Linked DNA regions of Homo sapiens: all the other regions are linked to region 2. The links are contacts of gene promoters, found by promoter capture Hi-C in human tissues and cell types (Jung and others, 2019). All regions are on one chromosome and are shown on one strand. Each heading gives the region's core, a stretch centred on a gene start or on the middle of the fragment in contact. The rest is flanking DNA. Distances are from core to core; before and after follow the strand shown.

Region 1 (7,405 bases), core at 2,111-4,610, 160 kb before region 2:
GTCTAAACTACAAAAGATACTCACTACTAATACTGGACACCCTCATTTGGCTTGCACACATAATATTTTCTTAAAATGGACCCAAAGGGAAAGAAAATCTATCACTTCAGCAAAAGAAATTAGGGCAGTCCCATAGGAGGAAATGCTGATTTTAGGAATTGGTTTAGAATTGGTTTCAAAAATCAGGTGAAATACTTTGCCTCATAATGATTTTATGTTTGTAAAATTTAAGAAGCCATGTAAATATAAGCATTTATTTCTCTTTAAGTTTGAGCAGGGTATTTTCCTTTTATCCCTTGCAAATTAGGCCTTTTCTTAAATCTCCATATCTCTGCCTCTATCTCCATAACAACAATGTCCTCTGAAACCCTGATCCAGGTTCTAGGAACGTGCCATCTAACACTGATAGTGTTGGTATGATTAGAATGACTTTTTGTTAGGCAGCTGGATTTTCGATGTTTTTAAAATGATCTGTCTCAACCAGATGCAATAGAAGGGGTGGCCTGTGGATTATGTGTTTGTCTTCTTCCTTTTGTTGCTGGGTCATTTATATTTAATATTTTGTTTTTCTGATAATCTTAATGAACACCTGTGTAATATATTCCACAGATTTCAATGGGACAGATGTTACAAGATTTTGGAAAATTTCTTGGGATGTTTCTTCTTGTTTTGTTTTCTTTCACAATTGGACTGACACAACTGTATGATAAAGGATATACTTCAAAGGAGCAGAAGGACTGTGTAGGCATCTTCTGTGAACAGCAAAGCAATGATACCTTCCATTCGTGAGTATCTTTTAAATGTTTTAGTAAATATATTTGTCTTTTTTTTTTTTACCATCTTCTATATGAATTAGTATCTATAGAAATGGAACTTCACATTTTAAGAAATTCCTTAGTAATGTTCATAAACTTTAATAAATACTTATTTTTCATGAATCACTATAGTCATCTTTACATACAGCATCTTAAATAGTGGGTCCAAGTTATTACCTTGTCTTCCCTACTGCAGTCTATCTTAACAGAGGAATTCTTGGCATTTTGTGTGTTCTTAGCATTTTGAGCAATTCTTTGTCATTCCTATGTATTGCAAGATGTTCAGCATCTCTGTCCTTCAGGTATTAAATGTCAGTAGCAACTCTCAGTCATTGTTACAGCCAAAAACGCTCACAGCTTCAACACTTTTTAAGAGGTCATTAGAATTGAGAATCATTAGAACTTCATGAACATTTTTTTCTCTAATGTATCATAAGGATTTGAATAACCTGTTTTGAGGTAAACAAAATTCCTCCCGTCATTTTTAAATAAAACAATGGAGAAGAGTTGTGGAAGGACACATTTGTCATGTTCTTATTATGTGTCAACTATTCTTTAGTTATTTTGTGTGTCATCTTATGTAAAGAATAAGATTAATGAGTATGTGTCAGTGTACCACTTACTATATACCAGCCAATGTTCTAAGTGCTGAGCAAATGAAGTATTAGTAAACAAAACTACCCTGATGAAGCTTACATTCTAGGGAGGTGATACAGGCAATAAAAAGAGGAGTAAAATATTCAGTATGTTACACAGTGGTCAGGGCTACAAAGACAAATAAAGCATGAGCAAAAGAGTGTCTGTGTGTCAGAGTTCAGTTTTAACTAAGGAGCTAGGGAGTGCCCCAGAAGAGATGACATTCATGTGAGGATCTAAAGCTGGTAAAGGAGCAAGCCACGAAGAACATTTCTGGGGGAAGAGCATTTACAGAGAGAGAGAACGGCAAAGGCAAGTGTCCAGAGGTAGGAGCATGACTGGTATGTTCAAGAAAAAGCCAGGCAGCCAGTGTGGATGGAATGTGTTGAATCAGAGGGGGAGTTGTAGGAAATGAAGTCAGAAAGGTAATGGGGATCATGTAGGACTTTTTTGCCCTTGTAAGGATTTTGAGTTATTGAGATTGAGAGTTATTTGAAGGTTTTGAGCAGAGGTGTGACAAAATCCAATTAGATATTAGCAAATCATATAGGCTGCCTTGTTGAGAACAGACAGAAATGAAGTCAGAAGGGTAATGGGGATCATGTAGGACTTTTTTGCCCTTGTAAGGATTTTGAGTTGTTGAGATTGAGAGTCATTTGAAGGTTTTGAGCAGAGGTGTGACAAAATCTAATTAGATGTTAACAAATCATATAGGCTGCCTTGTTGAGAACAGAAAGAAAGGCAGCAAGGGGTTAAACAGTTACAAATAATTTATCTTCCTTAGGGTCTCTTTGTTTAAATTTAAAGTAAGGCATATCAGTACTGTGGAAGTCAACATCATTTTTAAATAAGGAACTTTTCATGGATTATCAATGTTTTATTTAAATAATTTTGATATAAACAAATGATTCATTTTTGCTAATTTCTTTAATTGCCTTTTAAACAGAAATGCAATTGTCTTTACAGGTTCATTGGCACCTGCTTTGCTTTGTTCTGGTATATTTTCTCCTTAGCGCATGTGGCAATCTTTGTCACAAGATTTAGCTATGGAGAAGAACTGCAGTCCTTTGTGGGAGCTGTCATTGTTGGTACATACAATGTCGTGGTTGTGATTGTGCTTACCAAACTGCTGGTGGCAATGCTTCATAAAAGCTTTCAGTTGATAGCAGTAAGTTCATTCTTTTAAAAACTTTATATTCTCCTCAGACCATACTAAGTGCATACAATAGATAAGATAGCCAAAGATTATAAGATTATAAGAATTGAAAAATAGTATTTTTAAATTAAATATAGATTTTTAAAATGTAAGTAATGTATAATAATTGCAAATGTTGAACAAAATTTTTCTGCAAGGTGTGGAAACATCCCCCATATTTGTGTGTGTATTAATATTCTAGTTTGCTTTTTAATTTGCCTTTTATATAGAATCATGAAGACAAAGAATGGAAGTTTGCTCGAGCAAAATTATGGCTTAGCTACTTTGATGACAAATGTACGTTACCTCCACCTTTCAACATCATTCCCTCACCAAAGACTATCTGCTATATGATTAGTAGCCTCAGTAAGTGGATTTGCTCTCATACATCAAAAGGCAAGGTCAAACGGCAAAACAGTTTAAAGGTAAGAAATTAGAAGCTTGAATGGCAACATAAAAGTTTTAACAATTCCTAATCTCAGATATTTCTTAAAGCGTAAGTATGCAGGTTCCCTAAGGGCTGTGACTGTCTGACTTTTTTTCACTGCTATATACCCTAATGTACGGCATCGCATCCAACATAAAGTAAGGATTCAATAAATACTATTGAGAGTGAGAGGGCTGGGTGCGGTGGCTCACGCTTGTAATCCCAGCACTTTGGGAGGCTGAGGCAAGCACATCATCACTTGAGGTCAGGAGTTTGAGACCAGCCTGGTGAAACCCCATCTCTACTAAAAACACAAAAACTAGCTGAGTGTGGTGGCACATGCCTGTAGTCCCAGCTACTCAGGAGGCTGAGGCAGGAGAATTGCTTGAACCCAGGAGGTGGAGGTTGCAGTGAGCCAGGATCATGCTACTGCACTCCAGCTTGGGTGACAGAGCGAGACTCCACCTCAGAACAAACAAACAAACAAATATATATATACACACACACACACACACACACACACACACACACACACACATATAATTATTAAGAATGGGAGATAGTACTGAGATTTTTTTTTTTACTTTTCAGATTCCTCCAATATATAAAATTTCATCTCATAGTTTTAAAACATGGGAAATATTCAAAATACCCATTCTGTCACTGTAGCTAAAGAATGACTACTAGAATCAGCTCATATTTTTCTGGTTCTTCTTGAAAGTTATTCAATACATCAATAATTCAATATATGTTACTATAAACCAGGGGTTGGGACATTTTTTCTGTAAAGGTCCAGATAGTAAATACTTTACACTTTTCAGGCTGAGACAAAATCAGAGATATTGTAAGCAGTGATACAGTAAGAGAGAAAACAAATTTTCACAAAACTTTTATTGATAAAAGTCAAAATATAACAATAACAGTAATAACTTTTTAAATATAGGTCTACTAGTGAAAAGAATGGAGTTCCTTTTGGGAGGGGATAAAATTTCACTTAACTAGAGTTTAAAATTAGTGTTATTATCAATTGATGATAAATGTTCATCTGTAAAATCTATTCTTAGCTCACAGGCTGTAAAGTCAGGATATGGACCATATTTGGCTTGTGGGTTGTAGTTTGCCAATCCCTGCTATAAACTAAGGATTCCTAAGACTAATTTTTTTCAATCAAGATAAGCATAAAATTAAATTCATTAAACAAATATGCAGGCTATATTTGTTTTAAACAAGTGTTGAATATTATACCATGTAGTAGAAAAACTATAGTCTAATAAAGCATTTAAAGATGTGTTTGTGTCTGTGAATATATTTTTGAACTCTACCTCATTTAAATATCGTTTCTGCATATCCTTAGTATCATATTGTTGTTTTGAAGGAATGGAGGAATTTGAAACAGAAGAGAGATGAAAACTATCAAAAAGTGATGTGCTGCCTAGTGCATCGTTACTTGACTTCCATGAGACAGAAGATGCAAAGTACAGATCAGGCAACTGTGGAAAATCTAAACGAACTGCGCCAAGATCTGTCAAAATTCCGAAATGAAATAAGGGATTTACTTGGCTTTCGGACTTCTAAATATGCTATGTTTTATCCAAGAAATTAACCATTTTCTAAATCATGGAGCGAATAATTTTCAATAACAGATCCAAAAGACTATATTGCATAACTTGCAATGAAATTAATGAGATATATATTGAAATAAAGAATTATGTAAAAGCCATTCTTTAAAATATTTATAGCATAAATATATGTTATGTAAAGTGTGTATATAGAATTAGTTTTTTAAACCTTCTGTTAGTGGCTTTTTGCAGAAGCAAAACAGATTAAGTAGATAGATTTTGTTAGCATGCTGCTTGGTTTTCTTACTTAGTGCTTTAAAATGTTTTTTTTTATGTTTAAGAGGGGCAGTTATAAATGGACACATTGCCCAGAATGTTTTGTAAAATGAAGACCAGCAAATGTAGGCTGATCTCCTTCACAGGATACACTTGAAATATAGAAGTTATGTTTTAAATATCTCTGTTTTAGGAGTTCACATATAGTTCAGCATTTATTGTTTAGGAGTATAATTTTATTTTATCTAAAATAATAGTCTATTTTTTCTTTTGTATTTTGTTATAATCTTAAGCAACAAAGAAAAAACCCTAATATTTGAATCTATTTATGTCTTTCAATTTAAATTCACTTCAGTTTTTGTTATTGTAATATATTTACTTTTACATGGTTATAATCACTTTATATTTTTAATGTTTTTTTCACTTAATATTTTATATATACATTTCCATGTATTGATGTAGTTAGTCCACATTTAAATTTTTATAGAATTATATAGTTTTTGAAAAATACAGTCAGTAGATGTTTTATTTTTTAGCTATTCAGTTATGTTTATAAGTTTGCATAGCTACTTCTCGACATTTGGTTTGTTTTAATTTTTTTGTATCATAATAGTCCTATTTTTTTTTCAAGTTGGAGTGAATGTTTTTAGTTTTAAGATAGATAGGAGACACTTTTTTATCACATGTAGTCACAACCTGTTTTGTTTTTGTAAAACATAGGAAGTCTCTTTAATGCAATGATTTGTTTTATATTTGGACTAAGGTTCTTGAGCTTATCTCCCAAGGTACTTTCCATAATTTAACACAGCTTCTATAAAAGTGACTTCATGCTTACTTGTGGATCATTCTTGCTGCTTAAGATGAAAAGCATTGGTTTTTTAAAATTAGAGAATAAAATATGTATTTAAATTTTTGGTGTGTTCACATAAAGGGATGTAGCTAAAATGTTTTCATAGGCTATTATATATTCTCGCAGCATTTCCAGTTAAGAGGATATTAGGTATATAATTCTCTTCTTAACCGAATGTCAGATGGTCTTACGCCACAGGGTGCAGGTAACCCTTGGTCTGTAAGCACCACCGATCCAGGGATCATTGTCTAAATAGGTTACTATTGTTTGTTTCATCTTGCTTTTGCATTTTTATTTTTTAATTTCCAAATTTTAAGTGTTCCCTCTTTGGGGCAAATTCTTATAAAAATGTTTATTGTAAAGTTATATATTTTGTCTACGATGGGATTATGCACTTCCCAATTGGGATTTTACATCTGGATTTTTAGTCATTCTAAAAAACACCTAATTATTAAAACATTTATAGAGTGCCTACTGTATGCATGAGTTGAGTTGCTTCTGAGGTACATTTTGAATGACAGCATATTGTAAGAAAAAAAAAGGTGAATAAAATTTGACATTAGATTATAAATGGAGTCTGTTCATTGTATTACCAATTTTAAAAAGTTGAGATATACAGTAGTCCCCCTTTATCTATCTGCAGTTTCACTTTCCATGGTTTCAGTTACCCACAGTCAATCATAATCTAAAAATATTGAATGAAAAATTCCAGAAATAATTCTTGAAGTTTTTTTTATTTTTTAGAGACAGAGTGTCTCTTTGCCCAGGCTCACTCTGCAGTGGCATGATCATAGCTCACTGCAGCCTCGAACTCCTGGTCTCAAGCAATCCTCCTGCCTCAGCCTCCCAAATTGCTGGGATTACAAGTGTTAGCCTCCATGCTCAGACAGTTCTTAAGTTCTAAGTTGTTCACTGTTGTTCTGAGTCACATGATGAAATCTCATGCCATCCTGCCTGGGCGTGAATCATCCCTTTGTTCAGCATATTCACAGTATACACTATCCACCACTGAATCACTTAGCATCATTCTCTGTTATCAGATCGACGGTCATGGCATCCCACTGCTTGTGTAACCCTTGCTTTATGTGTAACCCTAATTTTACTTTATAATGGCCCCAAAGTGCAAGAGTTGTGATGCAGGCAATTCAAATACGCCAAAGAGAAGCTGTAGCCTGCTTCCTTTAAGTGCAAAGGTGAAAGCTCTTGACTTAAGGAACTTCAGGAAAGAGAAAAAATGTATCTGTGGTAACATCTACAGTAAGAACGAATCTTTTGTCTGGGAAATTGTGAAAAAGAAAAAAAAAAATCTGTGCTAATTTTGCTGTTACACCTGAAACTGCAAAAGTTACAGCCACAGTGTGGGAAGTGCTTAGTTAAGATGTAAAAGGCGTTAAATTTGTGGGTGGACAGTATGAACAGAAACGTGTTCCAGTTGACGGCAATTGGGCTCAGTAGTATCTGTGGTTTCAGGCATCCACTGGGGTGTTGGAACATATCCCCTGTGGATAAGGGGGGACTACTCTACCATGTTTTGAAATAATCTGTCAAAGACCTGTATGTGAACATTTATAGAAGCTATATTCATGGTGTCAAACTGAGAACAACCAAATGTCCATTAACTAGTGACTGGATCAGCAAATTGTAAAT
Region 2 (6,610 bases), core at 1-2,500:
CGAAAAGACCCGGCTGGATGCGCTCGGGGATCTTGCTCACGTTGAAGAAGGCGGCCACCACCAGCCAGAAGTAGCGGCGGTAGAAGTGCACGAAGAGTGTGGGGTTCTCCCCACGCAGGTCGAAGAGCCAGCTCTCGAGCATAATGGGGCAGGCCATGCTGAGCGGCATGACGAAGACGAAGGTGCGCAGCGCGAACGGGTAGGTACACCAGTCGGTACGGCTCTTGCAGCAGGCCACAGTGCAAGCCACCGCCAGCACGAAGGCCACAGGCAGCACCAGGGCGCGGTAGGCGGCGATAAGGCGCGTGCAGTCCACGTGCCAGCCCAGGCGCTGCTGCAAGTATGGAGTCATGACTCTGGCATCCAGCAAGCTGAGGCCTGGCAACAGGTAGTAGTAGTAGGCCACCGTGCTGCCGAAGCCGTAGTAGCTGATGGACGCGTAGTCCAGGTAGAAGAAGGCGGCGCGCAGACGCAGCGACAGGCAGCTGAACACGTGCGCCGTGCAGCTCATGGCGAAGGTCAGCAGCACTCCCGACGCGTAGCACCACAACGGTAGCAGCCACGGGTGGTGGAAGGGCACGTCGCCGCCGCTCAGGAAGAACAGACGGCAGAACTTGCTCAGGAACAGCAGCAGCGGGATGAAGTGCGTCCAGAAGTTGAGCGTCTCGTTGGTAGGCTTCAGCACCGAGGCTAGGCACTCCTGGGCCGTGCACGGCAGACGCCGGTAGCCCGACAGGATGAAGCACTCCACGAAGTCGTCGGGCACCTCGTCCCAGCGCAGCAGCGGCTTGGCAGACGCTGGGGGGTCCCGGGAGGCGGCAGAGTGGGAGTTCCGGGCGGCCCCCGAAGCTGCCGGGGCCGGGGCCGGAGGGCCTTTTGTGCCCGCGCCCCGGGGCTGCAGGCGCCGCGGCATGGTGCCCGGGGCTCGGCTAGGGCGCGCGCAGGCGACCTCTGGCGCCGGCTCCCGGGCGCTGGGCAGCCCCCGCCGGCCGCCGTCGGAGCCTTTGTGCCCACGCCGGGGGCGTCGCTGCAGGTTTAGGAGAAGACCCGTGCCTCCGAGCAGCCGCTCCTAAAAATTAAATAAATCAATAAGAGAATCAATTAATAGGCAGCGCTGCGACCGCCAGGAGCGCGGAGCGCGCGAGGCTCAGCGGCTTCCTCGCCAAGCCCCTGCTACCGGCGCGCGGCCGCCCGCGCTGCGGCAGCGGCGGCGGCGCGGCTGACTGCGGCGGCAGCGCGGCAGCGGTGACTGGGCATCGCGCGGTGCGGGTGCCTCCGCCGCCGCCGCCCCCGGAGCGGGAGGTGGGGATGTGCGAGCCGAGGCGCGGAGGGAGGGACGGGCGCACCGAGGAAGGGCGGGGGCCTCCCAGGCTAGGGTTTCGCGGCCGCTTCGGGGGATAGAGTTGTCCCCTGTCTCGAGTTCCGTACCATCCCCCTCCTCGGGCCGCCGCAGCCCGGGCCGCCCCGTTAATGATTGATGCGGGGGCCGCAGGCTGGTCGGCGACGCGGCGGCGCGCGCGCCGAGTACTAGAGTCGGCCCTGGGGTTCGAAACCCGACAGCCACGCGGGCGTTCTGGAGGACACTGGGGAGCCGCGTTCGCGGGGGGCGGGGAGCTGCGGCTGCGGGGGGAGGGGAGGGCGCCGGAGCCGGGCAGGGCGGAGAGATGCGCCAGCGGTAATCTCCGGAGGTCGCCGGGGAGGGGGGCACTCCGGAAGTCGGGGGGCTTTAAGCCCGCGTCCGGATCGGGGCCGTGTCATTGTCAGCTACCTGGGGATGCGCCTCTCGCTCCCTCACTGTCTTTGCGTGTGTGTTAGTGTGTGTGTGTGTGTGTGTGTGTGTGTGTCGGCCTGTCTACGCACTACACGAAGGCTTAGTTGGTCTTCTTTCGTCTAGTGGGCGCACTCAGGTGCGTCACCATTCTGCCGTTTCCCTCGCCCTTGTCCTGTCCGAAAGAACCGTCCGCAAGCTGCCCTGTGGTCGCGCTCACCAGCTCTTCGAGCCGCAGCTAACCCATCTTCTTGTTTTTGTGTCTTTAACTAGGACTTCTATTTGGAACTGAGTCCGACAGCTCAGGACTGGCTGCTCAAACTCCACAATTTAATGAAAAATCTCAGATGATGACTCAGAAAACCTCTAATGATCTGAGGAATATATTAAGGGATTCCAGAGTCAAAGGCTGATCATGGAGGGCATTGATGAGGGAAGACTTCAGGTAGGAGGTGCATTCTAGCAGGAACTGAAGAGAATGAAGTCCAGTTGGTAGAAACGGAGGGGGTGGCTTGGATAAATCTTATATGTAATTAATCAGAAGTACCTGGCAGGTGGCTGGAGACCAGAAGAAAGGAACACTGGAAGAATGAAAACGGTTGTGATGCACTGCAGTGTGAAAATATGCCCTTGAGCCTTAAAGAAAGGGGCTTAAGGCCGGGCGCGGTGGCTCACGCCTGTACTCCCAGCACACAGATCACGAGGTCAAGAGATTTGAGACCATCCTGGCCAACACGGTGAAACCCCGTCTCTACTAAAAATACAAAAAATTATGTGGGAGTGGTGGCGCACGCCTGTAGTCCCAGCTACTCGGGAGGCTGAGGCAGGAGAATCGCTGGAACCCAGGAGGCGGAGGAGGTTACAGTGAGCCGAGATCGCGCCACTGTACTCCAGCCTGGCGACAGAGCGAGACTCCGTCTCAAAAAAAAAAAAAAAAAGAAAAAGAAAAGAAAGGCTACTTTCATCGCTACTGCACATCCTCTAAGTAGGTTAAGGAAGATTTACTTAGTAGAGCCTCAAGATGGATTTAAGTTATGGATAAGAATTATTTATAACTAGGATATCATTCAGTATTATAAGTGTCTGCAGTTACTTAAGGATGCTAGAAACAGTCTAGAAGTTTCAGTCTTCTCTCTGAAGTATACTTTCAAGTAGTAACTGATTTAGCAAGCTCTTACACAATTAGATCAAACGTGCGCTTCAGTCTTCTGCCTTTCTGCACTGCCACACATTCCTGTCTAGTGGATTTTTTTTTTTAGGCGTGGATTTTTAAGAAGTGAGATTTTGTTGTAGTTATTTAGCCAGTGTCTTATTTTAGTGTTTTCTGGTTTTCCACTGTTTGTAGCTTGTTTTAAATTGAAATCTAATTTCCTTTTATATCTGGACTGAGGACCCATGGCTATTTGTAAAATGGATTAAATTTAGGTGTTTTAATCAAGTGTAGGAATGATAAACTTGAATCCAGGGCAGGCCCGAACTTTTTTTTTTTTCATATTCCCTTTGTTACTCCACAAACAACCAGAGCTGTCACGTGTAAAAATGGTGATCCTATAATAATTCTTATATTTACCACACTCTTAGTTGCATAATCAGCTCGCTTACATAATCTAGAAAAATATAATAGAAAGTTCACTTCAAGCAAAACAATGGAATTGACTGTAAATGGGTATGCAAAAACTTGAGTTAGATAAAATATCTTTATGACAAAGAATGGTGAGATTGACTCTAATAAAATATGTTCTTTTAAAAAATCAGTATTTTATAAAGTAAAAAAAAAATGTTTCATGTTAAGTCTTTGAAAAAGTCTTTGTGATATCTGCCTTTGTCCTTTCTCACACATCCCCTACCCTGCTTGAGGCACAAAACCAGTTGATGCCATGGAGTGAGTGGTGTTCATGAAAGTTCACTGGTGCAGAGCCCAGTCAGCTGTCCTTGCTATACCTTGACAAAGCTCAGTAAAAAGGAACTAAGGAAACAGCAAAACTGACCTAACTTATAAAGTAAAACAGCAATATGGCTTTTCCTTAATTGCTACCAATCTATAGAATTAATTTCTCTTACTTTTTAAATTGAGATATAAAAATGTGGCCCCCAAATCCTGCACAGGCTGAGTTTTGTAGTTTGTTTTAACTCCAGCAAACTGTCTCTTGTCAGTGGGAACCATGCTCACATCCTCTGGACTTGGCTAAACAGAAGCAATGAGCAGGGTGCCATTCCCTGAAGGTGCATTGGGACATAAGGCATCTCTAAGGTAACCAGGACTGACTGCAAAGTTTTTGACAGACAAGAATCACCAAGTTACACTGGAAAGCCACTGCTGGCATTTAGAGGCAAATGCCAGCTAGTTCTATCAATTAAAGTTAAATCAAGACCACAAATGTGGTGTTGGTAGTTCAGTGGAGGCTCTGTACATCCAGGTGTTGAGGGGTCCTGGCTGCAAAATGCAGTCATGTGTCATGTGTTGAAACTGTAGCAAAAGGGATGAATGCTCTTTTCAGTCTGGTTTGCTTTGGTAATGTTCTTGTAGACCAACTACACGTTTTTGTTTCTTTCTACAGGAATAATATTAAGTATATGTAAAAATGCCACTGCAAATTTGATGTTGTTTAGTAAGGGCAGTTAGCTATCTGTAAAACCAGCAGAAAAATATGCTGTGTTATTGGCTAATAATATACCTATTTTTAGAGGAAATAATTTTTTCTTGTCTAATTTTTAGCCAGAAAACAACCAACTAAAGAAAGAAATAAAAAGAAAAGAAGAAAGGAAAGAAAGGAGAGAAAGAAAAGGAAAGAAGGAGAGAGAGAAGGAAGGAAGGAGAGAGAGAGAAAGGAAAGAAAAAAGAAGGAAAGAAGGAAGGGAAGGAAGGAAAGGAAGAAAGAAAAGCACAGCACTATGGACCTAGTGCTTAATTGTACCCAAGACTCTGTATTAAGAGAGAACTCTGTAGGGTTCAGTCCCTCTTCTCAGAATATATAGTTTAGGCTGGGCACGATGGCTCACGCCTGTAATCCCAGCATTTTGGGAGGCCAAGGCAGGTGGATCACTTGAGGTCAGCAGTACGGGACCAGCCTGGCCAACATGGCGAAACCCTGTCTCCACTAAAAATACAAAAATTAGCCAGGCATGGTGGTGCATACCTGTAGTCCCAGCTATTTGGGAGGCTAAGGCAGGAGAATCACTTGAACGTTGGAGGCAGGGGCTGCAGTGAGCTGTGATTGTGCCAGTGCACTTCAGCCTGGGCAACAGAGCAAGACTCTGTCTCAAAAAAAAAAAAAAAAATATATATATATATATATATATATATATATATAGTTTAAACAAAGTGCTTCCCTTTTCCCTAAATGGAAAACAGCCATGATCTGACAGGTCAAATATAGTCACTACCAAGTCATATAGTCTAAGCTTCCTAATTGTGGAAAATCTAATGGTATCAGGTGTAACTGTAGCAACCTCTAGTGACAAGTGCAATCAGAAAGCCAGGTAGAGGGCTGGGAGAGAGCAGTGGGAGACTGAGTTATCTGGCACTGTTCCTGCCTGCTACTGACTGGGTGACAGACATGTCTCTCTGTTTTTTTGTTTTTTGTTTTTAGAGGTGGAGTCTTGCCCTGTCACTCAGGCTGGAGTGCAGTGGTATGATCTCGGCTCACTGCAACCTCCACCCCCTGGGTTCAAGCAATTCTCCTACCTCAGCCTCCCTAGTAAGTGTAATTACAGCTGCATGCCACCATGCCCGGCTAATTTTTTTATGTTTAGTAGAGACGGGGTTTTACCATGTTGGCCAGGATGGTCTTGAACTCCTGACCTCAAGTGATCCGCCCACCTTGGCCTCCCAAAGTGCTGGGATTACAGGTGTGAGCCACTGCGCCCAGCTGACAGGCATCTGTTTTGAAGAAAAGCTAAGGGAAACTTGAGGATGCTTTTTGTTTTGGGGGTGGGGGGTTTTTTTTTTTTGGTTTTCTAAGGCTTTATGAAGGGAGTGACAATGCTACACTCCCCTCCCTCAGCAAATTCACCTATTTTCTTCCTGGGGTCTCTAGAGTGGTTTCACAAGACTAATGAAGGGGAAGAATAAAATATTACTTCTGCTTAAATAGATGTCATCCTTTTCCATGCACATGCTCTGTGAAGGTTTTATGATGCACTAATATGTAGTCTATGAAGATAATGTATAAATAATATGTTGGGACACGAGGGTGAACCAAAACACTTCACCTGATAAGAATGTGCGACCCAAACTGCTGACCTACTCTCGATAGTCCATTGCTCTTGTTTGTCCAGCCTGCTTCCATCCCCTCTCCCAGATCCAAGATGGATGCCATTTCCTGCCACTCAGATGGCTGGAAAGGCTGTTTGGGGTCACCATCTGTAAGCCAACAGTCCCCAACCTCTGACCAGACCTGCCCAAGTGCCCAGGCCTTCAGCCCCTTCTACAGCTTCCTTGACCTAGGATGGTGGTCTCTGCTCTGGAGCTGTTTTTCCCAGGTCTGCCCTTCCTGTTTCCTGATTGGAGCCTATATTGTTTTCCTACAAAGGCCTTGTATTAACTTACTATATTGAATGTAATTCAGAGTTACCTTTTGGGGAGGAGACTTGTTTTATCATAGGCTGTTGCTTGCTTTTGATAGAGCCTTTTGGATAGCTTCCATTTAACTTGAGAAACACTTAATACAAGTGTGTGAGCTAGATTACTGAGTTTCTTCTCCCCATTATTTATCAACAGTTCTCCTTGAAACAAAGATCTTTGCACATAGTAAGCACTTAACACATTGTGGCTGGGAAATTTTTTCAGTACCGTAAGCTTTTAAAAGGTTAGAACTTAGAGTCCTAGAATCTTAGAGTAGG
Region 3 (6,612 bases), core at 1,981-4,480, 230 kb before region 2:
CTTAAATGGCCTATATGTGATTTGGAGAATGGGATATTACGTGTACAGGGTCAGTCTTTTATCTGGGCAGTTAAAAAAAATGTAACCCAAGCCAGACTCCTAGCTATACCTTGTATATAGACTTGGAGGAAGAGTGTGAAAAGATTAAATTTTATTATATAGGTATTATCGTAACCTAATAATTCCTCTTCTACCTTGCTGCCAGTGCTCTAAATATCTTCTTCATTGCTAACTCTTCCAAATTTAATGATACTGAGAAATTTAAGATTTAAGATCAATAGTTGAATAGGTAATGAGGATTTCAAAAGTTATCACTAAGATGTGATTAACTAATGACTTTTAGGAGCCTAGATGAATGATAAGGACTAAAAGAATTCCAGCACTGTATCAATATAGTCATGAGACTCAGTAGATTTCTTTGGATGCCAAAGCTTTGTTATGTATAAAGTGGGGGTGACTGGCACTGTTATTAATAGCTTCTGTTAATTTTTAAACATATGTTTTTCTAGATTAACATATTGGCCAGTAATATATTTTTCTAGTTTTATAAATATGTATAATTCAAATGTATATGAGATTAAATTTAAGCAACACAATAAATCCTTTCTGAGACTGTGTTGCAACAACCTGATATAAACTAAGTTTTAAACAACTTACAGCAGCATTGTGAATGGGATCTCATGTCATTTATCAGACTCTAACTACAAAATAAACATTGCTTTTGACTATTTTTCTAATAGAGTTAAGAATATGCTGTTTATAATTTTTATCAACTGATTTACTATGAAAAAATCAGCATTACCTTCTGTGCTATAGTGTAATTTTTTCAGGCAGCAGTGTGAATCTTTGCTCTTTTGCCAAATGATATTCATTATTATTAATGGTCCTCATTAAGATTCATAAGCAACTAAGAAATTATGGTAATAATTGTCTTTTTACAAAAATGTTCAAAGTGTTATAAACAGTTTAGCCTACCATGTTTTTTAGTATCTTTAATTTTGAAGGTTTCATTTACAATAATATGGTTATAAATACATTGGGGTCTGTAATACGAGTTTTGCACATTTGATAAAGCTACATTTTAAATCATTTTCACTGTAAAAAGTCTGCATGGGTTTTTTTTTTTTTTCCTTTTTAAAATTTGGTTCAAGCTAATTTGAAGTTTGATGTCAGTTAACATTTTTATCAGTATTGTCATTTATATTTCCAGATCCAGCAACTGAACTTGATCATGTCTTTTTATTTTTTCACATCATCATTCTTTTTCCTCTTAATAAAACTTTCTGTTTTAAGCATCATTGGTAATATTTCAGTTAGAATGTTGCAATTGCCACACTCAGGTTTGTTACAGAAACTTGGTTTGAAAAGCTTTACAAATTTTTTGACATTAAATTCTCTCACACTTCACAACTAACTTCAAATTTGGTTAATATAAAATTAAACTGAACAACATTGATACTCTCTTTGCCATAAAATCAAACGAGATGCTAATGAGGAAGAGGTGGAATCACCTGTTCTTAATCAGTATTGTAACATTTCTCCATTGTATTTCTCAAGGGTTTATTACAGTTGGCCAGAGTAAATTTGTTGCTAAGGATCTATGGGATCACTCTGGTATTTTGTATACTAGTTCATTTTTTTTAAATTGCTGGTTAGGACTCACTAAATTGATTTTATGACTGTTAATGGGTTGCAACCTGCAGTTTGGAAAACATTGGTTTGGAATGATCATTGGCTGAGCCGCAGAGAGGCACAAGATGAATTCAGAATGTTAACAAGGTCTAACTAAGTCCTATAGGGCTTTGTAGGCCACAGTAGAAATTTGGCCTTTATTTTAAGTGTGATAGAAAAATCACAAAGTTTGTAAGCTTGATATGTTTTGATTTTTTTTTTTTTTTTTTTTTTTTTTTTGAGACCGAGTCTCGCTCTGTCGCCCAGGCTAGAGTGCAGTGGCGTGATCTCGGTTCACTGCAAGCTCCGCCTCCCACGTTCACGCCATTCTCCTGCCTCAGCCTCCCAAGTAGCTGGGACTACAGGTGCCCCCCACCATGCCCGGCTAATTTTTTGTATTTTTAGTAGAGGCGGGGTTTCACTGTGTTAGCCAAGATGGTCTCCATCTCCTGACCTCATGATCCGCCTGCCTCAGCCTCCCAAAGTGCTGGGATTACAGGCATGAGCCACCGCGCCCGGCTTGTGTTTTGAATTTTTAACCGATAACTCTAGCTGTGGAGTGCAGAGTGGATTGAAGGGGTGGGGCTAGAGCAGGAGTGAGCAAACTATGGGCCACAGACCATATCTGCCTGTTCTGTGAGGTCTTGGAGCTAAAACTGGTTTTTTACATTTTATATTTCAAATGGTTAAAAAAAATTTCGTAACACATGAAAAGTCTATAAAATTCAAATTTCAGTGTCCATAAACAAAATTTTCTTAGAACACATCCACTATCATTTGTTTACATATGGTCTGTGGCTGCTTTTGTGTTGAAAGGGCAGAGTTGAGTAGCTGTGACTGAGAGTGCATGGCCCACAAAGCTTAAAATATTTACTCTCTAACCCTTTTTCAGAAAACTTTGTTGACCCCTGTGCTACAGTATAAAGTATTAGTAAGTAATATAAGTTGCAATAGGGAAAAGAGTAAACAAGGAAGGGGGTGAGTGTGGGCTCAGTGGAGTCAGGGAAGTGAAAAATTACAAAATACGGGGCTTGGGGAGTTGGTCCATGTGAATCCCACCTGAGTTTGCTAAAGGCACTTAAGGAGTTAGGCTCCTACCCTCCCTGGAGGCTGAGAGATAGGGGCCCTGTCTTCAGGTGTTGGCTGGAACAAAAGTAAATTTTTATGTCAGCTTTGAGTTTTCTCGGGCAGGCATTTTAAGAGGGGCTAGGGTCATCCTAGGGATCCGGCCTTCAGCTGTTAGAAACACTTAAGTGTTTTGTTCAAGTTTATATGGGCCAAGGTGGAGGCCTTGTGGAGAAGGGCTCAGAAAAGCCTGACTAGAGTTTGGTTAAGGAGAGAATCTTGGTCAGCAGCTGTGTTAGTTAAGAGGCTATTGCAGAGTCCAGGAGGAAGATCATGGGGGTTTGGACTGTGGGTAGCAGTATACATGGAGACAAGTAGATGATTATGGGAGATATTTTAGAGAGGGGGCTAAGAAGACGTGCTGTTGAATTGGTATACTCCCTGTGGAATTGATTGAAAATGGTTTCTTTTTCCTTGACTGAAAAAGACTACCATCTAGCCAAAAAAGTAAACAGATTATGTTGCACTTCCTTCTATGTGTTATATTTTAAAAGACAAAAGATGTAACTCTTGAAAGCAACTTCGTTATAAAATGAATGGCATTTATATATTTGTCTGTCATACACAGGCATTTTGAATTGTAATCCTTGTTCTATAACTAGCTACTTGCTGTCTATTTTAAGTTTTCTGACCTCTTTTTACATATATACTCATCCTAAAAATTAAGAGTGTTCTGGTCTTTTTTTTTTTTTGACATAGTGCATTGTTTTAAATGAATTGCAAATATAAACTTCTCTGAAATGCTTAGCAACCACTCTAGGTTTCCTGTAGGTTCTGTGACTATAATGTGATTTTTCATTTGCATGACTGTGTTAGCTGTAGCAGGGTGGAACCTTTTATTTTTAGGGATGAAAATTATTTATTTGGTTTTGATTTTTAGGGATTTTCTTTCTTTCTTGTATAGCTCCTTGACTACAATAGAAATAATCTTTAAAACCTTAGGGCTGGGCACGGTGGCTTATGACTGTAATCTCAGCACTTTGGGAGGCCAAGGCGGGCAGATCACTTGAGGTCAGGAGTTCGAGACCAGGCTAGCCAACATGGTGAAACCACATCTCTACTAAAAATACAAAAATTAGCCGGGCGTGGTGGCAGCTGCCTGTAATCCCAGCTACTCAGGAGGCTGAGGCAGGAGAATCGCTTGAACCCAGGAGGCAGAGGTTGCAGTGAGCCAAATGGTGCCATTGTACTCCTCCAGCCTGGGTGACAGAGTGAGTCTCTGTCTTAAAAACAAAACAAAAACTTTAAAGCTGGAATATATGATATTTGTAATGTACTTTCCTTTTTAACAGCAATCTAAACTTTTAAACATGTAGCAGTTATTTTTGTCTATTTGCTATACCTGAAATTTATAAAATGTCATAAGGATTTATTTGTGTAGCTCTTCCTACGTTTCTGTCTCTAGCAATATGGTTGATTAGATAATCTGAAAACCTTTCTTCTTCAAATCACCTAGAAATTATAGCTAAAATATAATGAACATCCAGTTAAATGAACAGCTGAGCTTTCAAGAAAGTAGGGGAAACAACCAAGATACAAAAGTGAAGAAAAAACTGAAAAACAGGAGTTTGTGAGCTGACACTATGGCTGCTCCATGGGTGGGGATAAGAGTTACTGTTCTGGGCATTGCAGGGATTTGAGTCTTAATGCCCATATGAGAACAGGTTACAAGGCCTGGAGACTGTACAAAGTGAGGAGTTGGATTCAACATCTAAGCATAAAACCAGGATTCTTAAAGGACTGTACCTTCAGCAAAGAGGTAGATGAGGAGAAAAACCAATCTACCAGCACATGGAGACTTCAAAGAAGCTTGTTTGTGTTATTGTGGGCTCTGAATAAGGCTAAAAATAAGACTCCTTTAAGAATACATAACCATGGTCCTGCCTCTTGTTGTCTTGGGGTTCAAATTAATACTACTTTCAGATAATTAAACTGTCATACAGCGACTACAAAATAATTATGTTTAAAATGATGAGAAAGTTAAAATAAGGAAATGAAAACATAAGAAAATAAGAGAGTTGGAAAGAAATCTGGTAAAACTTATGCAAATAAAAAATACAGTCATTAAATTTTTAAGAAATCAGTGAATGGGTTAAAGGAGGAATGTGAATGGAAGCTAAAGGAGAAATAAGTGAGTGGAAGAAATATGTGAAGAAATTACCCAGAATGCAGGAAAGAGAGAGGAAAAAAAGAAAAAACAGGAAATCTTGAGAGACACAGATGTTGAAATGGGAAGGTCTAACTTAATGTCTAATGGAAGTTGACAAGAGAAAAAGCAATATGGAGATGAAGCAATATTTGAAGAGAGAATGGCTGAAAATACTGAAGAATTAATGAAGGGTAGAAGTCCTTAGATTTAGAAAGCCTAGGCCAGATGTGGTGGCTCATGCCTATAATCCCAGCACTTTTGGAGGCCGAGGCGAGAGGATTGCTTGAGGCCAGGAATTTGAGACAAGCCTGGGCAACATAGCGAGACCTCATCTCTATAAAAAATAAAAATAAAAAAAAAAATTGAAAGCCTAATGAGTCCTAAGCAGAATAAATAAAAAATTACTTTTCACCTGGACACATCACGATAACAAAGTATAGCAGAATTTTTATGTGTAGCATTCTACTACTAAGATGTTGAAATAGAGTCACCTGAAATAAGATTTTAAATGTCACTTTCCAGTAATAGCGATAAATTTTCACTGGTCTATCTTTGGTCACTATTGGTTCAACTTGTGACTTAGAGTATCACTTTGTGAAGTGTCTGTCTGATAAGGTTTTCCCAGGGAGCATTTGTGTCTAACTATTAACTACTAGTACTATGGGGAAAATATTTCTTTTTGTGACTAGTTTTCTTCTTGAGGGACCTAAGGAAATACATTGTCAAGAAAACTATCACCCAGCTTCCTTCAAAAGAAGTTGTATGTGTGAGGCAGGGAGTTTAAGGCCATAGATTAAAAATAGTAGCAAATTTACTTGAAATTTTAATAAATAAAATATGTTACCTGTCTTTCTTACTCACTTATTTAGCCCAGTTTCAGTATTTTCTTTTTCTGTATCATGAAATCATTTCTTTTTCTATTTTCTATGCTGATTGTTCTTTCCCTGTTTATTTATAGACTTCTAATGAGCAACTGTATTTGCACATCACGTAAAATGACTTATTTATCTATTGTTTAACAAGTCAAATGAAACAAAACAAGCAAAACCCACCTTGGCTTTTTTTCTCTATTTAATTAGCATTTCTCTTGATTTATTCCCCATATTCCTGTACCATCTGGTCAGCAGACAAATACAGTGGGGCCTTGCTGAAAATAATTACTGCTGTAATTGTTGTCATTTCCTCACATGGGACAACTGTTTTGTTGTGGGCTACAGTCACACAGAAGGCAATTTGCCTGCTCCTAACAGGTCAGGCACTAATCCTAGTCCTGCCTTAAGAGTTTTGTGAACTGAATGTTCCCTGGCCATTTAATCTAATCAGCTTCATTAATGAGATGGTGTGTGTGTGTGTGTGTTGGGAGGGTGGGAAGTAGGGAAGAGGATTTTCAGACATCTTTCCCTTTACTATACATATCCTTGAATATATATGTATTTATACTGCTTTTCCAAAGTGTTTTCTCCTGTAAAACCTCTTTATAATATCCTCTGCTTATTACTAGATCTCATTTTTAACTCTATGTTATGTAAGTAAATATCTATGTATATTTGAGGTATAAAACTTAATTCTTTAAGCTTTTTCCATCTAATTTTTCTAGTGTCCAGTCTGTGCCTTTGGGCATCCTTTATTAAATTGCTTTAAATATCTTCCAAAAGTTTCTCCTCTTA
Region 4 (7,469 bases), core at 2,265-4,764, 140 kb before region 2:
TGTTTGGCATGATTTTGCCTCGCCCATCTTCACCTACTTGGCCCATAATAATGTAATTTAGACCTAAAGAAAGAGAATACAGAAATTAATCTTTTTCTCTATGTATCATGTGTGAAACAACTTAGACTGTAAGTTACCTCTAGATAAATGTTCTCTTCTGCAAATGGTAAGATTATACATGTATTCCATCCACGATAAAATCTGGGTTTCTTGTTTTTGCTTTTTAGAGATGGGGGTCTTGCCATGTTCCCCAGGCTGGTCTTAAACTACTGAACTTAAGCGATTCTCCTGCCTCAGACTCCAAAGTAGCTGGGACTACAGGCACACGCCATTGTGCCTGGATGATAAAATCTGTTTTAAGACTCTCATCGGCAAAAAGCCAAATTCAACTAGTAAGGTATTTCAGCTACGCTAACACCAGGAAGCTGGACTGAGTGGTTAGATCAGCCATGTCCCGCTCTGCAGTGCTGTAGGTCTGTTGTGGTTTCAAATGCCTGCTATGAAGAATGCACCGCGTTAACGTGAAAGACTCTCCTTCCTCGAGGGGCCTCCAGGGCTCCATGATGGGCCATCCTCAGATGGCTTCTCAGTCCCATCATGTGTCTGGATTTTCCTGGCATTTGGCAACCAATGATCCACTCTCTTATGTTGCTGTTGTCTTGAACTTTAATCAACATCTCAAACATGTATGCTACGCAAGCTTCTTGAGGGCATAGATGGATCATATACTACTTGCATTTGTACAGTTTCTTGCAAAACATCGGTGTCAAGAGTACTTATATTGGTTATACTATGTTTTTATACATTGGTGTGACTGGCTAAGTTAGGCCTAGACTGGGGCCTGAGGTGTTGGGTAACTCTGAATATTTATATTACCTCAGAAATAAATCAGAAAAAAAGGTATGGGTTAATTCCTCCTTTAGTTCCCCTTTCCCCTGGTGTGTCATAGAGAAAATGTGTCCTTTTTCTCTTGCATTTTCCTGTGTGGGTGGACCTTGTCATCACAGTGGTCTGTGAGAGCCTGAGAGTCTGGGCAGGTAATGCTGCCTCAAGGCTGAAGTGCTAGCAGCATTATGAGACCTTATAGAATCTTGAGGTGCAGTATCTGCTGCTCCTGGCAGTTCTGGAAAGAAATGTTTCTCTTTTACAGAGCCTTTGTGATTCTCTCCAGAGACTCAACATGAGGCTACTAGCCTCCTGACTTTTCTGAACAATCTGAATTCACAGTAAAGCTTGCTTTATTTTTAAATTTTTTTCTTTTTTTAGACAGTCTTGCTCTGCCACCCAGGCTGGAGTGCAGCAGTGTGATCATGACTCACTGCAGACTCGACCTCTTAGGTTCAAGGCATCCTCTTGCTTCAGCCTCACGAGTAGCTGGGACCACAGGTGCGCACCACCACACCCGGCTAAATTTTTTTATTTTTAGTAGAGCAGAGGTCTCACTATGTTGCCCAGGCTGGTCTCGAACTCAGGCTGAAGCAATCCTCCCATCTCAGCCTCCTAAAGTGCTGGGACAGTAAAGCTTTCTTGAAGTGGATATTCTGTATCTTTCTCTCTCTTTCTCTCTCTCTCTCTCTGTGTGTATGTGTGGAAAGATGTTAGAGCTTATGTAGGGGAAAAATTGCAGAACTTGTGTGTGATATGATTCCATAAGTGTATATGCCCATGCTTTATGTGGATAGAAACTTTCTGGAAGGAACTTAAATTTTTTTTTTTTTTATAGAAATAGGGTCTCACTACATCACCCAGCCTGATCTCGAACTTCTGGGCTCAAGCAATCCTCCCACCTCGGCCTCCCAAAGTGCTGGGATTACAGGCATGAGCTACTGTGTCTGGCTGGAAGGAACTTTTTAGAGTACTTCTAAGGAAAGGAAAAGGGTTTCACTTTTAAACATACTCTTACCTACTTATTTCAACTTTTTAAAAACCATGAAACATATGTTACTTTTATAAGTTGTTAAATACATATTCTTAAAAAGTCATGTGCCTCTAGCTCTGGAGTAACTTTCCGTTTTTCGTAATTTCTTTCAATAAACTCACTCCCATCCATGGACTTAATAGTCCTATCTCTGCAAATGATTCCCAGATCTTGATTCTAGCCCGGATATACCTCCCTCTTCTGAACTTCGGGTCTGCATTTCCTGTTGGCTGCTGGATATTTTTCTTTAAACCTAGACAGTACTGGCATCTTAAGTGCAATAGTCTAAAATCTCTCCACCCTGCACTGCTCTGTGTGTCTGTTGCCTATTGACTCAACTTCAAACGCTTCTTTCACTTGTTCATCATGTCCACTACCCCTTCTTCTGCCACAAGTTACAAGGACTTGGATGAGAGCCCAATTCTGCCTGACTCCAAAGGCCTTCCTGCTCTGCAAGAAGTGGGCAACATATTAGCCCTGATTTTACTTCCCTAGACCAACCATGGCATGGAAAATCCATGGCTTGCTCAGAGACACCCAGTTTTCTCCCTACTCACCTCTTCTGAGGAGAGGGCACTGCTTGCAGACGACAGTCAGCCTGGCACTCATGTTCTTGCCCGCCTGCTGAATCGCCAAATTTCCCTCTTTGTAGATGTTGATGATCGAGACTGTGGCGTGCAAACTCCCATCGCGAGTGATGGTTGTGATAACAGTGCCGGCTAATACTGCAGAAGAAAACATTTTGAAGTGATGTGACAGTGAAGGCAAATGCAAGCAGAACTGAAAAACAAGTTTACATTCTTCTAAGTTTCAGATACGAAACATTTTAATGTTAAAGAAAAGGCCCTCATAGAGGTTTCACATTTGCTTCTGTACATTTGTCACCAAAATTCAGGTTGGAGCTGTGATGTTACGCTGGTTGTTGGGGATTGATAACTAGAAGAGAAGCCTAAATACTTGCCACACTGCGGTCCATTGCCAAGGTTGAAACTCTTTAAAACGTTTTATCCAACTTGTGGCTTGATTGTCACATAGGGGATAGTCTGGCTTATGAGGCTCTACCTGTGAATACTCAAAAAGATCTTGTATCTTTAGAGGCAGTACCACGCTAAAAGATTGCGCGATGGGGGTTTGGGCCACTAAGATGTGAGTCTTTGTGTCGGTGTGGGTGTGTAGCCACCTTTCTGTGTCTCTCCTCACCCTTCTCTGTAGCTGTCCTTTCTTCCTGAACTTTTGTTCATTCCCTGGGTCCTCACCTCTGTCTAATTATCAGGAAAGCTCTGTCTTCTACGGTCTTTCATATTCTCTTTCTTATCCACTCCGTTTATTTCATTTAACAAGCTGAAGTATAGAACTGAGGTATTAACTTAAACTTTTTTTTTTCTTAAAAAAAAACCTCTAGTAAAATTCAGTTGATTTTTTCATTATGTAAACCCCTGTTTTTTCCATCATGACACTCCGAGAAAAGAGTCTCTCTTTGAAGCCACAGAAGGAAAGATGTTGTCTTTCTCACGGGGGTGCGCCTGGCATTCTGGGGGCTTGAGCAAGGACAGTTCCTTGTGGTGTAGGACTTGCACTGAATACAGTTTTTTTTTGTTGTTGTTGTTTTTTCATGAGATGGAGTTTCGCTCTTGTTGCCCAGGCTGGACTGCAGTGGCACAATCTCAGCTCACTGCAACCTCCACCTCCCAGGTTCAAGCAATTCTCCTGCCTCAGCCTCCCAAGTAGCTGGGATTACAGGCATGCACCACCACACCCAGCTAATTTTGTATTTTTAGTAGAGATGGGGTTTCTCCATGTTTGTCAGGCTGGTCTCGAACTCCCAACCTCAGGTGATCCACCTGCCTCGGCCTCCAAAGTACTGGGATTACAGGTGTGAGCCACTGAACCTGGCCTGAATACATTTTTTACCAGCCTTGTCCTTCCTAGAAAAATCAGTAGCAGTTCCTAGTTATTGTGACAACCAAAAAAATGCAGTAATCTAACATCTCTACCACTCCCCAGGGGAGCATTATCAGCCCTGGTTGAGAACCAGTGACTGATGATAGTTTTGGTCATTTTGCCATGTAAGCGGTCACATTAATGGAATAAATCAAGTTTTGGACTTGGTTAATCTGACTCCTTCAGAATAAAGTGAACACTCACTGCTTAGGCAGTGTGCAATGTTCATAAAATCAGAATTCCTATGATGCTTTACTTTGATCCTGCGTGATAAGTGTTCACTCCAAAATTCAGTCTATAGTCAAGTGAAATCAGTGGCTCCCAAGACACAGGGAGGGAGACTTCCTGAAGCACCTCCTACAGAAGAGTAAACTGGATGTGGTAGCAATTACATGTGGCGTTGTTTTCACATTTATGCCAGTTATTTGAATTTCAGCATGTGAACTCTAGTAAGGTTTAGGGTCCCAGAGTCTTCAGTGTCTTCACACCTTCACTATGATACAGCTCGTCTGGACTACAGAAGTCACTTCAAGGCACAGAAAAAGCAAGCAGAGCCTCTCTGGGGAAGTTTTGTTTGGGGAAATGTATTTAGGCCATAGCAACTTGCTCTTCCTGATCAGATTTGTCTTAAATGTTCCTTTAAAGCCACTGAAAAAATAACCAAGATAAAATGTTGTATCTTTTGCTCTTAAGTAGCTATCATAGATGGTGCAATCTTTCCACTGGAAAAAGCTCTTAAAAATTCTAAATCATTAAAGAACACCTCCTCAGGTTCCAGTTTGTGAGAGTTTCCAAATGGACTCCAGATTTCCAACTTTTACTTCAGTACCTCAGAAAGGCAGTACAGGGGAAATACTTGAATTTCTTCTGAGAGAGACCAGCTTCTGAATATAAGCTCGGGTATGTTTCTAATTTACTTAAGTTGAGTTATAGATGTGTGAAAAAATACTCTGTATATGAAAAATATATAAGGAAAAAAGTACATAGGTTTTTTGCAGGAATAGTCAGCCAGAACACACAATGTGGCAGTATCATGTACCAAGAGTCAAATTATTAAGCTTATATGAAAAAAGTATATTTTCTAAATCCATATTTTTCTCAGTGGTGAAATCTAACAATTTGACCATTCTGGTGTATAGGCAAGTATTTTCTTGGATAAATGAGCAGCGTTATTGACCCTTCACCATAAATTCATAGGAATTCCTTTGAGATTAAGCATGCAGCCTCAAGTTTCTGGTTAAAGAGAAAAAGACTGGCTTTTATTTCTTACCAAAGTCACTTGAACAATAATTGCCCTCCAGAGTCCCCGTCCGTCTACACTTTTGTTGACACAAGGCCACGGTGGGTTTTAAACCTTAATTCAAAGAAGACATAAGTTTCACGAAAAATGAATTCAAGCATAATTGGTCTTTAGTTCTGAATCTACCCATTTAAAATTATCATTTATTTCCCTGAGCCACCAATCTATCACTACAAAGAAAAAATTTAAAACCACGCAAAATAAATTCTCCATGCTACCAACTACTGCTCTAATTTCACCAGGACAACTCAATACCCTCTATTGAATTTTAAACCTGAGTTCAAAGATAGCACAAATGTAGCCCTGTTCTCTTCTTCCTTTATATAAAACAAACACTATAAGAAAATACAGGCGTACTCTGAGTGTGTGCCCTGTTTAGAAAAACCCAGAACAACAAATTGGAACTCACAGAATGTAGGTTAATCCCTCACTTTACAAAAGGAATCATAGGGTGTTCCCCTGAGGACATCCTTAAAATATGCAATTGCCTAAACATGAGTAGCATAGGTTTTTAGAAATACTGTTCATGTGTAAAGTGTGTTACATCTGTAATTAGATGCAACCCATCACTAAATATTTATTTTGAGCCTGGCACTGGCTATAAGAATCTTAAGAACTAAGAAGTAGACAAATTTAAAAGTATACCAAATAGACAAAACACAGCAGTTCTTAAGTACGGGTGACGTTGCCCCCAGCAGGCATTTGGCAATATCTAGAAACATTTCTGGTTATCACAACTAGAGGGTATTGCTAGCATCTAGTGGGTAGATGCCGAGACGCTGCTGACATCCCACAGAAAAAAGGACAGTCCCCGCAACACAGAAGGATCTGGCCCAAAATATAAATAGTGCTGAGGTAGAGAAACCCCGGGTTAACAACGTGAAAATAGTTCATCCTCATAATCATCTTAAGAATGTTTCAGAAATACTTGCTAATTATTTGTTTCTGTGTGACAATATGCTAGGAAGAACTAAACAGAACCACGGTAACAGAATTGCCCTTGTTGGGTGAATATCCACAGTTGTAATATTGCTCTTCCAACAGGCCCCACCAACTCCTCTGTTAATTTATTATTTATCTATTTATTTATTTTTGACATGGAGTCTCTCGCTCTGTCGCCCAGGCTGGAGTACAATGGTGTGATCTTGGCTCACTGCAAGCTCCACCTCCCGGGTTCAAGCAATTCTCCTGCCTCAGCCTCCTGAGTAGCTGGGACTACAGATGCCTGGCCAATTTTTGTATTTTTAGTAGAGATTTCATTTCGCCATGTTGGCCAGGCTGGTCTCAAACTCCTGACCTCAGGTGATTTGCCTGTCTCGGCCTCTGAAAGTGCTGGGATTACAGGTGTAAGCCACCGCGCCCAGCCTATTTATATACTCTTAATCTGTACCCCCTAGTTAACTCCAGAAAGAATCTGAAGCAGATGGCAATATTAAAACATATGTAATTTAATGTTAAAATACATATAATAGCTTAAATATGCATTTTTAAAAAAGGGAGAGAAAGAGCTCAGAAGATGTTTGGAAGGGAGAGACATACCATTGTTCCAGAAGTTGGGAACCTCACTTCAGCTGTAAATTTATGGAATTAAATTTACTCAGTTAACTGAGTCAAAAAGTTGTGGTGTGTCTGATGGTGAGCGCCCTTTCCCGGGCCCATTGGGAACCGGCTGCTTCTCAGCCTCCGAAGGTCAGTCTGGAAGTGGGGTGGGTGTCCAACATGCCCTTCTCCTGCTTTGGTGGGGCCTGCTGTCTGGCCTGCAAGTCACTGGCTCTCTCCTTCCCCTCCTCATCTTAACTGTCATCTGTCTCCTTGCCCTTCACTCACAAAGCTGGTCCCGGTTCTCAGCCCTCCCTGGCTGTGTTCCCGCGATCGTTTCTATGGGTCCACCCTCCCATGTCTGATCCCGCAGTCCCCGTGGCCTCATCTTCACCAGGGACTTTCCTAGACACTCAGTTCCAGGCTCGGATGTCTTCATGCTATGGCTGTTCATTGCCAGTCTATCAAATTTAGACCTGCTGGCAACCAGGACAGCGTTCTCCCCTCCAAGCTTATTTATTTAATCACTCTATGACTATGTTTTCTTCCATCTTTGATGGTTCAATATATTGGCTGCTCTCATTTTTCCCAACCCGTCAGCCCTGGCCTGTCTTTACTTCCTTAGCAATTCTATTTCATTTCCATGGTCCATTATTTCAATCATTTTCTACACAATGCCTTAAGGTCCCTTCCCCTCTGCCCTTCAGCCCTGTATGAATCTTCAGAGAAATCTGTTTTTCCTGTGCCTGCCCTCAGACAACTGAGTACACA

The links. Contacts are between HindIII fragments. The study calls those that stand out against the background at their distance.
Region 1: a contact is called between a fragment that was not itself captured here and the fragment with the promoter of PAQR9 in region 2, in 2 of the 25 tissues and cell types used here (H1 embryonic stem cells and hippocampus).
Region 3: a contact is called between a fragment that was not itself captured here and the fragment with the promoter of PAQR9 in region 2, in 1 of the 25 tissues and cell types used here (mesendoderm cells).
Region 4: a fragment that was not itself captured here is called in contact with the fragment with the promoter of PAQR9 in region 2 in 3 of the 25 tissues and cell types used here (hippocampus, lymphoblastoid cells and spleen).

Annotation. Positions count from the first base shown.
Region 1 is chr3:142,801,560-142,808,964 of GRCh38, forward strand. It overlaps TRPC1 (transient receptor potential cation channel subfamily C member 1), which reads left to right. Exons shown (of 13, transcript NM_001251845.2): 10 at 610-785; 11 at 2,418-2,619; 12 at 2,877-3,071; 13 at 4,449-6,329. The coding sequence ends at 4,676. Among named protein-coding and RNA genes, the nearest start is that of TRPC1, 81 kb to the left of the region's middle. RefSeq lists an enhancer at 6,568-6,862. The HindIII fragment of the contact is 5,234 bases long and covers 744-5,977 here.
Region 2 is chr3:142,962,424-142,969,033 of GRCh38, forward strand. It overlaps PAQR9 (progestin and adipoQ receptor family member 9), which reads right to left and starts at 1,251. Exons shown (of 1, transcript NM_198504.4): 1 at 1-1,251. The coding sequence starts at 913. PAQR9-AS1 (PAQR9 antisense RNA 1) reads left to right here and starts at 1,635. Exons shown (of 5, transcript NR_125393.1): 1 at 1,635-1,675; 2 at 2,042-2,213. RefSeq lists a silencer at 280-465. The HindIII fragment of the contact is 8,480 bases long and covers 1-5,868 here.
Region 3 is chr3:142,729,492-142,736,103 of GRCh38, forward strand. The region is part of intron 1 of TRPC1 (transient receptor potential cation channel subfamily C member 1); the gene reads left to right. Among named protein-coding and RNA genes, the nearest start is that of TRPC1, 8.8 kb to the left of the region's middle. The HindIII fragment of the contact is 4,663 bases long and covers 900-5,562 here.
Region 4 is chr3:142,818,403-142,825,871 of GRCh38, forward strand. PCOLCE2 (procollagen C-endopeptidase enhancer 2) reads right to left here. Exons shown (of 9, transcript NM_013363.4): 7 at 5,130-5,213; 8 at 2,476-2,643; 9 at 1-63. Among named protein-coding and RNA genes, the nearest start is that of PCOLCE2, 67 kb to the right of the region's middle. The HindIII fragment of the contact is 5,097 bases long and covers 967-6,063 here.